Regions from separate parts of the Homo sapiens genome. Here region 2 is linked to region 1. Evidence: promoter capture Hi-C in 16 types of primary human blood cells and fetal thymus (Javierre and others, 2016). All regions are on one chromosome and are shown on one strand. Each heading gives the region's core, a stretch centred on a gene start or on the middle of the fragment in contact. The rest is flanking DNA. Distances are from core to core; before and after follow the strand shown.

What was found. Contacts are between HindIII fragments. The CHiCAGO score rates a contact against its expected background, and 5 or more counts as called.
Region 2: a fragment that was not itself captured here is called in contact with the fragment with the promoter of GTF2IRD1 in region 1 in 14 of 17 cell types (megakaryocytes, fetal thymus, activated CD4 T cells and 11 more); the score reaches 16.2 in megakaryocytes.

Annotation. Positions count from the first base shown.
Region 1 is chr7:74,451,300-74,455,155 of GRCh38, forward strand. GTF2IRD1 (GTF2I repeat domain containing 1) reads left to right here and starts at 2,607. Exons shown (of 27, transcript NM_005685.4): 1 at 2,607-2,877. RefSeq lists an enhancer at 903-1,422 and silencers at 2,308-2,657, 3,160-3,229. The HindIII fragment of the contact is 10,217 bases long and covers 1-3,856 here.
Region 2 is chr7:74,566,956-74,571,197 of GRCh38, forward strand. All of the region lies in intron 22 of GTF2IRD1 (GTF2I repeat domain containing 1), which reads left to right. Among named protein-coding and RNA genes, the nearest start is that of MIR10525, 27 kb to the right of the region's middle. The HindIII fragment of the contact is 4,554 bases long and covers 1-3,752 here.

The sequences.
Region 1 (3,856 bases), core at 1,357-3,856:
GCCACACAGGAGGGTGCCTTGAGATGTCCCAGACCTCCTTACAACAGGAGGGTGGTGAAGGATGGAGGGAGCATTGGTGACTTCATTCCCAACCCTGACATGGCCCAACATCCTCTGTGGGCATGAGGGCCCCTCTGCGCCCTGCCTTGTGCTGGGCACTGCAGATGTGGCCTGCCTGGGAGGAGCTCTCAGTCTGATGGGTTTGTGGGTTTCCTATAGGAGACCTGGTCAGCCAAAGTTAACCCTCACCAAGTTCCTGGTGTGTGTCCAGAAGAGACCCCAGTGTAATTGTCTGACGGGTGTTCCTGCCGCTGCACAGGAAGAATTCACTGAGACCATGGTATTACAGCGAGAAATAGTTTTATGTTTCTTAATTTTTAAAATTTTTTAGACAGTCTTACTCTGTCGCCCAGGCTGGAGTGCAGTGGTGCGATCTTGGCTCACTGCAACCTCCGCCTCCCAGGTTCAAGCGATTCTTATGCCTCAGCCTCCTAAGCAGCTGGGATCACAGGTGCCTGCCACCACGCCCGGCTAATTTTTGTGTTTTTAGTAGAGACAGGGTTTCACCATGTTGGCCAGGCTGATCTTGAATGCCTGACCTCAAGTGATCCACCTGCCTCGGCCTCCCAAAGTGTTAGGATTACAGGCATGAGCCACCGTGCCTGGCCTAATTTTTGAAACACAGTCTCACTCTGTCACCCAGGCTGGAGTGCAGTGGCTGAATCTTGGCTCACTGCAGCCTCCACCTCCTGGGTTCCAGTGATTCTCATGCGTCAGCCTTCTGAGTAGCTGGGATTACAGGCATGCACCACCACACCCGGCTAATTTTTGTATTTTTAGTGACCAGGTTTCGCTGTGTTGGCCATGCTGGTCTTGAACTCCTGACCTCAAGCAATCCACCCACCTTCGCCTCCCAAAGTGCTGGGATTACAGGCATGAGCCACTGAGCCCAGCCAAAAGCGTCTTATTAATGCAGAGCTAGCCAAGCAGTAGGACTGGAGTTATTACTCAAATAAATCTCCCCAAGAACTCAGAGGCTAGGGTTTTTATGGATAATTTGGTGGGCAAGGGCCCAGGGAATGGGTACTGCTGATTGGTTGGAGATGAAATCACAGGGGTGTGGCAAACGGTCCTTATGCACTGAGTCGGTCTCTGAGTGGGGGCCACAGGATGGGCTGAGTCATGAGTCACACAGGTCCAGGTGAGTCAGTCGGTTGCCCGAATGCGAAAGTCTGAAAAACATCTCCAAAGACCAATCTCAGTTTCCACAATAGAGATGCTATCTATAGGAGGAAGTGGGGAACTCACAAATCTTGTGATCTCTCGCCACATGACTCCTGAGCAGTCAGATTATAAAAACGATGCGTAGGTTTTAGCAGCGTCCAGGCCCCTCCCATAATCCTAATCTCACGGCCTTTCGTTAGTTTTACAAAGGTGGTTTTGGTCTCTTGTATAAAAAGCAGGTTAGGTTTAAGGAGTAACTATTATCATCCTTGTTTCAAAGTTGAACTATAAACTAAATTCCTCCCCCGGTTAGCTTGGCCTATGCCCCGGAATGAGTGAAGACAGCCAGCGCGTGAGGCTGGAAGCAAGATGGAGTCAGCCACGCTAAACTTCTGTCACTGTCCTAATCTTTGCAAAGGCAGTTTGGCCAGGAGGCTGTGGGGAGACCTTGTGGGTTTTGCCAGGACCTGGGAGATTCTCGATCTATGTTTGGCTGTCCTTCTAAGCCAGAAGCTCCCTGGGGTTGGGGCCTGCCTGGGGTGAGTCCCTCCCTCCCTGCCATGCCCAGTCTAGCCAAGGTCTAGTTCAGGGATCAGGGCACCACGTGGGGGAAGGACTGTGTTCCTTGTGCTGAATTAGGATTTATGGCTTTGGGGCCGGATGGGAGGCGTGCGCACTGATTCAGTAGGAGCGCTGCTGTGGTGTGTGTGTGGTTGGTGGGAGCGGGGCGGGCGGGGGGCGGGGGGGCTGGTTGGGGGGACAGGGGTAAAAGCCTATCAGAGGGAGGTCCCATCAGACAAGATGGGACCAAGAGTCCAGTTGGCTCTGCTGCGACTTTCGGCCTGTCACTGCCTTCCTGCACATCTCAGGGGTGGGAGGGGGACAAAGGCTGTAAGAGTAAGAGGTACCTGGCCCAAGCCTTAGGACTAGAACCCGGGCCAGGCGGGAGTGACCAGCCGGGACACTCAGGGCCTCCGCGCGTTCCAGCTGGGTGACCTTGACCCTCCAACTTCAGCCCCCTGCGCCCGGCTGCTCTCCCAGTGGTGGTGGGGAGCGGTGGGGGTAGACGGGGGCGCGCCCAGGCTTTTCTAATCCGGCGCTGGTGGGGGAGAACCGAGGGCGCCACCGCCCCTCCCCGCAGGTCCGGGGCCGAGGGGTGCGGCGCGCTCTCCCCACCGCGGTGCCCAGGTCCCCGGGACGCAGGGGCGCTGGGTAGCAAGGGGGGTGCGCAGGGGCGCGGGGCGCGGGGCGGGCTAATCCCGTATGTAAATGGCAGCCAATGGAGGGTGGTGTTGCGCGGGGCTGGGATTAGGGCCGGGGCGAATGGCTGGCAATCTTACTGGGATTACAGAACAAAGAGCCTCCCCGCGCTCCCGCTCTCCGCTCCTCTCCCCGCGCCGCCCCGCCCTCCGCCGCAGCCCGCGCCGGGGGTGGGGGCCGCCGAGCGCCAGCCCCCCGGCCGGCCGATTCCCCCCCCGCGCCCCCTCCCCGCGCCTCCCTCCCCGCCCTCGCCGCGCCGCCGTCCTCGCCTCCCTCTGCCTCTCCTTCCCCCATTCTCCCGGATTAATTAAGGAGGCAGCGGCAGGAGGCTGAGTCCTGGCCGCGGGCCGGGGCCGGGGCGCCGCTGGCAGGAGCGCTTGGGGATCCTCCAAGGTAGGAGAAACTTTTGCGGGGGGCGGGCACCGAGGCCCTTCTCCCCTTCTCCCCCACCCCCGCCCCCGATCCCCTCCGCCTCCGGGGGGGGGGGTCCCCGCCCCTCCCCCTCTCAAGGTGTTACAGGAGCTGGGGCCGGCTTTTGGGTGCCCGGGGAGGCACGTGACTGGGATTATAATTCGGGCCCGGGGGGAGGGGAGGGACGGCCGCCCCCCACCTGCCCGGGAGGGGCCGGGAGCTGGGAGCTGTCACCCCCTCCCTCCTTGCCACCGGCTCTTCTGGAGGTGGGGGGCGTCCCGGGCCGGCGCCCGCAGGCTGCTGCAGTTGGCGAATGAGGTCAGTCGCGCTGCCCGCGGTGGCGGGCGCCGGGGTGGGAGCAGAGGGGGCTGGGAAGGCCGCGGTCCCCGCCTTTCCCCCCTCCACCTTCTCCCGGTCTGGGCCAGCCCCTGGCCCGCGCCCCCAACTCCCAGGCGGAGTCCAGTCCAGCCAGGATTGCCCCAGCAGGGTGGTTCCTGTAGTGGACCCCCCGCCCCGGCCCCGGGGAGGGGGCTGGCCTGTGTGGTGGTGGCCGCTGAATCCCGGGTGGAGGGGACTCAGAAGGTGGCAGTGGGGGGACCACAAAGGGTTCAGAGGAGTAAGTTGGGGATACTCGGTCTGTGGGTGGTCTCTGAGTTCCTGCAGATGGGTGGAGAGGACAGAGGAGGGGCCACAGGGTGCTGAACACCCACCCGCCCCATCCTAAGTACCCTGGGCATGATGGGCTTGACACCTCTCCTGGGCTCCTCACCCCTGGCCAGCAGCCAGGGAGTGAGACCCTGCCTCGCCTGGCGTGGGCCCAGGGAAGGGGGCCGCTGTGCCGCTGAGAGTTCGTTCCACCCTCCTGGCAGTGCTGGAGGGGGCTGGAGCTCTGGCGTCTGGCCTAGTGACCCTACCTCCCAGGACCAAGGTCCTGCGGTGGGAGTCTCCTGTGTCCCCATCC
Region 2 (4,242 bases), core at 226-2,725, 110 kb after region 1:
AGCAGCTATTACACTGGTCCTGCCTGTGTAAACCTTTAGGCTTGTAGTTAATCCTTTGAGTTCATTTATTTGTACAACAAAAATGTATGGAGGGCCAGGCGCAGTGGCTCACGCCTGTAATCCTAGCACTTTGGGAGGCTGAGGCAGGCGGATCACAAGGTCAGGAGATCAAGACCATCCTGGCCAGCATGGTGAAACCCCGTCTCTACTAAAAATACAAAAATTCGCTGGGCATGGTGGCGCATGCCTGTAATCCCAGCTACTTGGGAGCCTGAGGCAGGAGAATCGCTTGAACCCGGGAGGCAGAGGTTGCAGTGAACTGAGATTGCACCACAGCACTCCAACCCGGCGACACAGCGAGACCCTGTCTCAAAAATAAAAAAGAAAAAAAAAAGGAGAGAGAGGTGGAAAGTCCGCAGGTGAAGCCCAGGGAGAAACTTACTGAAGGGGGTGATTGGTTGCACCAGCCTCTGCTGGGAGGTCAGTCCTAATGCCTGAGAGTAGACGGAGGTGCTAAGCAACAGGTTGCAGTGGGATGGTTCAGAGCAATTTTGGGGGAAGTGGTGGGGACCAGAGTGGAATAGTGGGCTCAAGAGACAATGAGAAAGGCAAGTGATTGAATCTGCCAAGGACCAAGCACCAAAGTGCCAGCTCACTGCCACCCTCAGTAAAGACTAACTTGCCCTTTCCCCCAACTCCCCTCCCAGAAGTAGCTTGCTCTCCTCTGCCTGCCACACATCGGGGGGGTCAGGTCTAAAAGGATCACCTTTTAGAGGGCAGGAGAGAATGAACAAGAGTTGAGAGTGGAATGGCTGCAGAGAGGGCTTTCTTTTTTTTGGTGGAGGGAGGGGACAGAGTCTCGCTCTATTGCCCAGGCTGGAGTGCAGTGGCGTGATCTCGGCTCACTGCAACCCCCGCCTCCCGGGTTCAAGTGATTCTCCTGCCTCAGCCTCCCGAGTAGCTGGGATTACAGGCGCGTGCTATCGCGCCCGACTATTTTTTGTATTTTTTAGTAGAGATGGGGTTTCACCATGTTGGCCAAGCCGGTGTCAAACTCCTGACCTCAAATGATCCACCTGCCTCAGCCTCCCAAAGTGCTGGGATTACATATATGACCCACCACACCCAGCCAAGAGAGGGTTTTAGAGGTAGGAACAGCAGCTGCATGATCTTCAGCAGATTCAGTAGAGAGGGAAGTGAGCTGTGGGAGAGGAAGGAGGATGGGGGGAATGGCAAGAAAAGGAGCACCCTGCTTAGAAAGGGAACGGAGCTGGGTGTGGTGGCTCACGCCTGTAATCCAGCACTTTGGGAGGCCGAGGCAGTAGGATCACTTGAGCCCAGGAGTTTGAGACCAGCCACATAACAAGACTGCATCTCTATTTAAAAAAAAAAAAAAAAAAGAAGGAGAAAGGGCCGGGCGTGGTGGCTCACGCCTATAATCCCAGCACTTTGGGAGGCCCAGGCGGGCAGATCACAAGGTCAGGAGATCAAGACCATCCTGGCTAACACAGTGAAACCCCGTCTCTACTAAAAATACAAAAAATTAGCTGGGCGTGATGGCGGGCACCTGTAGTCCCAGCTACTTGGGAGGCTGAGTCAGGAGAATGGCGTGAACCCGGGAGGCGGAACTTGCAGTGAGCCGAGATTGTGCCACTGCACTCCAGCCTGTGCGACAGAGCGAGACTCTGTCTCAAAAAAGAAGAAGAAGAAGAAGAAAAAGAAAGAAACAGGATGGGTGGAAGAGGGTTGCTGAATGCTCATGCAAGCTCCTCTCTGCCTGCTCCTTCTCTCAGGGAGGGACAGGGGAGGGTGATGAGTCAGTGGACTAAATGTCCCCATGGGGATGAAGGACAGTTGGGGTCAGGTTTCTAGAGGGAGGGCTGGAAGGAGGGAAGGAGATGGCCAGAGAAGGATGTGGGACACAGAGGTGCCGCCATGGATCACCAAGAGGTTCAGGACTGGCCAGAGGGAGGAGAAGAGGTCAAGGTACGTGTGGGGCACTTGGATGACGCATCTGTGCCTGCACACAGCTGAAATCCCCAGGAAATAAGACGGGAGCAGGGTGGGTTTCTGCAGCCGAGGTGAGACCAAAATGCCAGCTCACTGCCACCCTCAGTAAAGACTAACTTGCCCTTTCCCCCAACTCCCCTCCCAGAAGTAGCTCACTCTCCTCTGCCTGCCACACATCGGGGGGTCAGGGAAAGCTCCCCCTCCCTGAGGAGCTGGTGTTCCCTAGGCCAGGGGCCAGTCCCTGCAGAGATTAGGAGCTGGGAAATCCCCTCCTCCCATCCCGCACGTCCACGCGTGCCAGACCCTGTGCTGTGGGCTTTTCACACACAGCCTCTTAGACGCTTAGCCTGTGAGGTGGGTGCTGTTGTCCTTCCTTCCCATTTTGTAACTGAGCAAACAGCCTGAAACAGACAAAAATCAGGTAGTTAGCATGAGGCCAAAGCCACTCCCTGGTCTATGCTGTTCTGCGGCCTGAGCCTGGGGTGGCCAGGTGGGGTTGTGCAGTGAGGGGGGGATGGAGAATAGCCCCCAAAAATGCTGCCGGAATGGTAAAGGGCCTAGCCTGCAAAGCTAGTAACTTGAGCTTTATTTTGTGGCACTGGCGGTTTTTCCAGTCATTGTAATGATACGATCAGATTTGCGCTGTCTTCAGGTTACCATGGTAACCATATTTCCACCCACCAAGGGTGGATTAGAGAAGGCAAAACTAGGGCAGAGAAGCCAGGGAGTGTTGAGAAGGTCTGAACCCAGGCAGTGGGCAGCTGGGCCCCACGATGGATGGGGTTAGGATCTAGAGGCAGCAGCAGGGTGTGAAGAGGGCGGAAGGTTCCGGAAGGGTGATGGTGGTGCTCGTCTCTAAGGCTGGGTCTGTGGGCTTGTGAGACACATCCAGGGGCCCATAGTGAAACCTGAGTGGTATTTAGTGCAGGCAGGGTGGCAGGCAGGCTGGGGGCCTCTCAGAAGCGTGGAGCTGGCAGAGAGAGACCTGCCCGGGGCATCGGAGGAAAGGGCGACTGTGCAGGAACAGAGTAGACGAGGTGGGGGAACCTTTGGGTAAGAAGAGCTGAGTCAGGAGCATTGAGGCAGCGGTTTTCAAACCTCAGAAGCAACAGCAGGGCCGGGCGCGGTGGCTCAGCCTGTAATCCCAGGACTTTGGGAGGCTGAGGCGGGTAGATCACCTGAGGTCGGGAGTTCGAAACCAGCCTGGCCAACATGGTGAGACCCTGTCTCCACCAAAAAATACAAAAATTAGCCAGGCATGGTGGCGGACGCCTGTAATCCCAGCTACTCGGGAGCTTGAGGCAGGAGAATCGCTTGAACCTGAGACGCAGAGGTTGCAATGAGCTGAGATCACACCACTGCACTCCAGCCTGGGTGACAGAGCAAGACTCTGTCTCAAAAAAAAAAAAAAAGCCAGACACAGTGGCTCATTGCCTGTAATCCCAGCACTTCGGGAGGCCAAGGCAGGAGGATTGCTTGAAGCCAGGAGACCAGCCTGGGCAACATAGTGAGACCCTGTCTCTACAAAAAATGAAAACATTGAGCCAGTGTTGTGGCACACATCTGTAGTCTCAGGTACTCGGGAGGCTGAGGAGGGAGGATCGCTTGAGCCCAGGAAGTCAAAGCTGCAGTAAGCTGTGATCACACCACTGCACTCTAGCCTGCGAGACAGAATGAGACCTTGTCTTTCAAAAAAAAATTCTAGAATTGTTCTTGAATAGCAGTGGTTAACGTTTTTTAAAAGCTTTGGAAGGTAGTGAACTCCCCGTCACTGGAGGCATTTAAGCAGAGGTTGAGCTGCCACTCACTAGAGAGGCCGCTTCCTATAGGGCTTGCTGCAGGAGAGGAGAAAGGGACAAGAGAGCCCTGCCGGTTTTGGAGGGGCTGTGGGGAGGACTAAAACCAAGGAGGGGCCCCTCTACCCACCAAATCCACTTCTCTTTGCTGCCCCGCCACCAGCTCCCCACAGCTCCTCCCTGCGTATGGGCCCAGCCACCCTTCTCCAGTTCCCTTTTGGGCAAACACGAGGGCTCTCCCCGGACCCAGGCCAGCTTCCGCTCCTTTTAGTTCTCCTCTCACCCTGGGGGTACAGCAGTCCCTGCCAGCTTGAGGGGACTGTGGGAAGGCAGCGCCCCACCTCTCCTTCCCCAGAGCAGGGGCTCCAGACCCCAGGGATGTGGCAGAGCTGCCAACTTCCTGTGTGACTCCAGCAAGTCAGGCTTGCCTACCTGG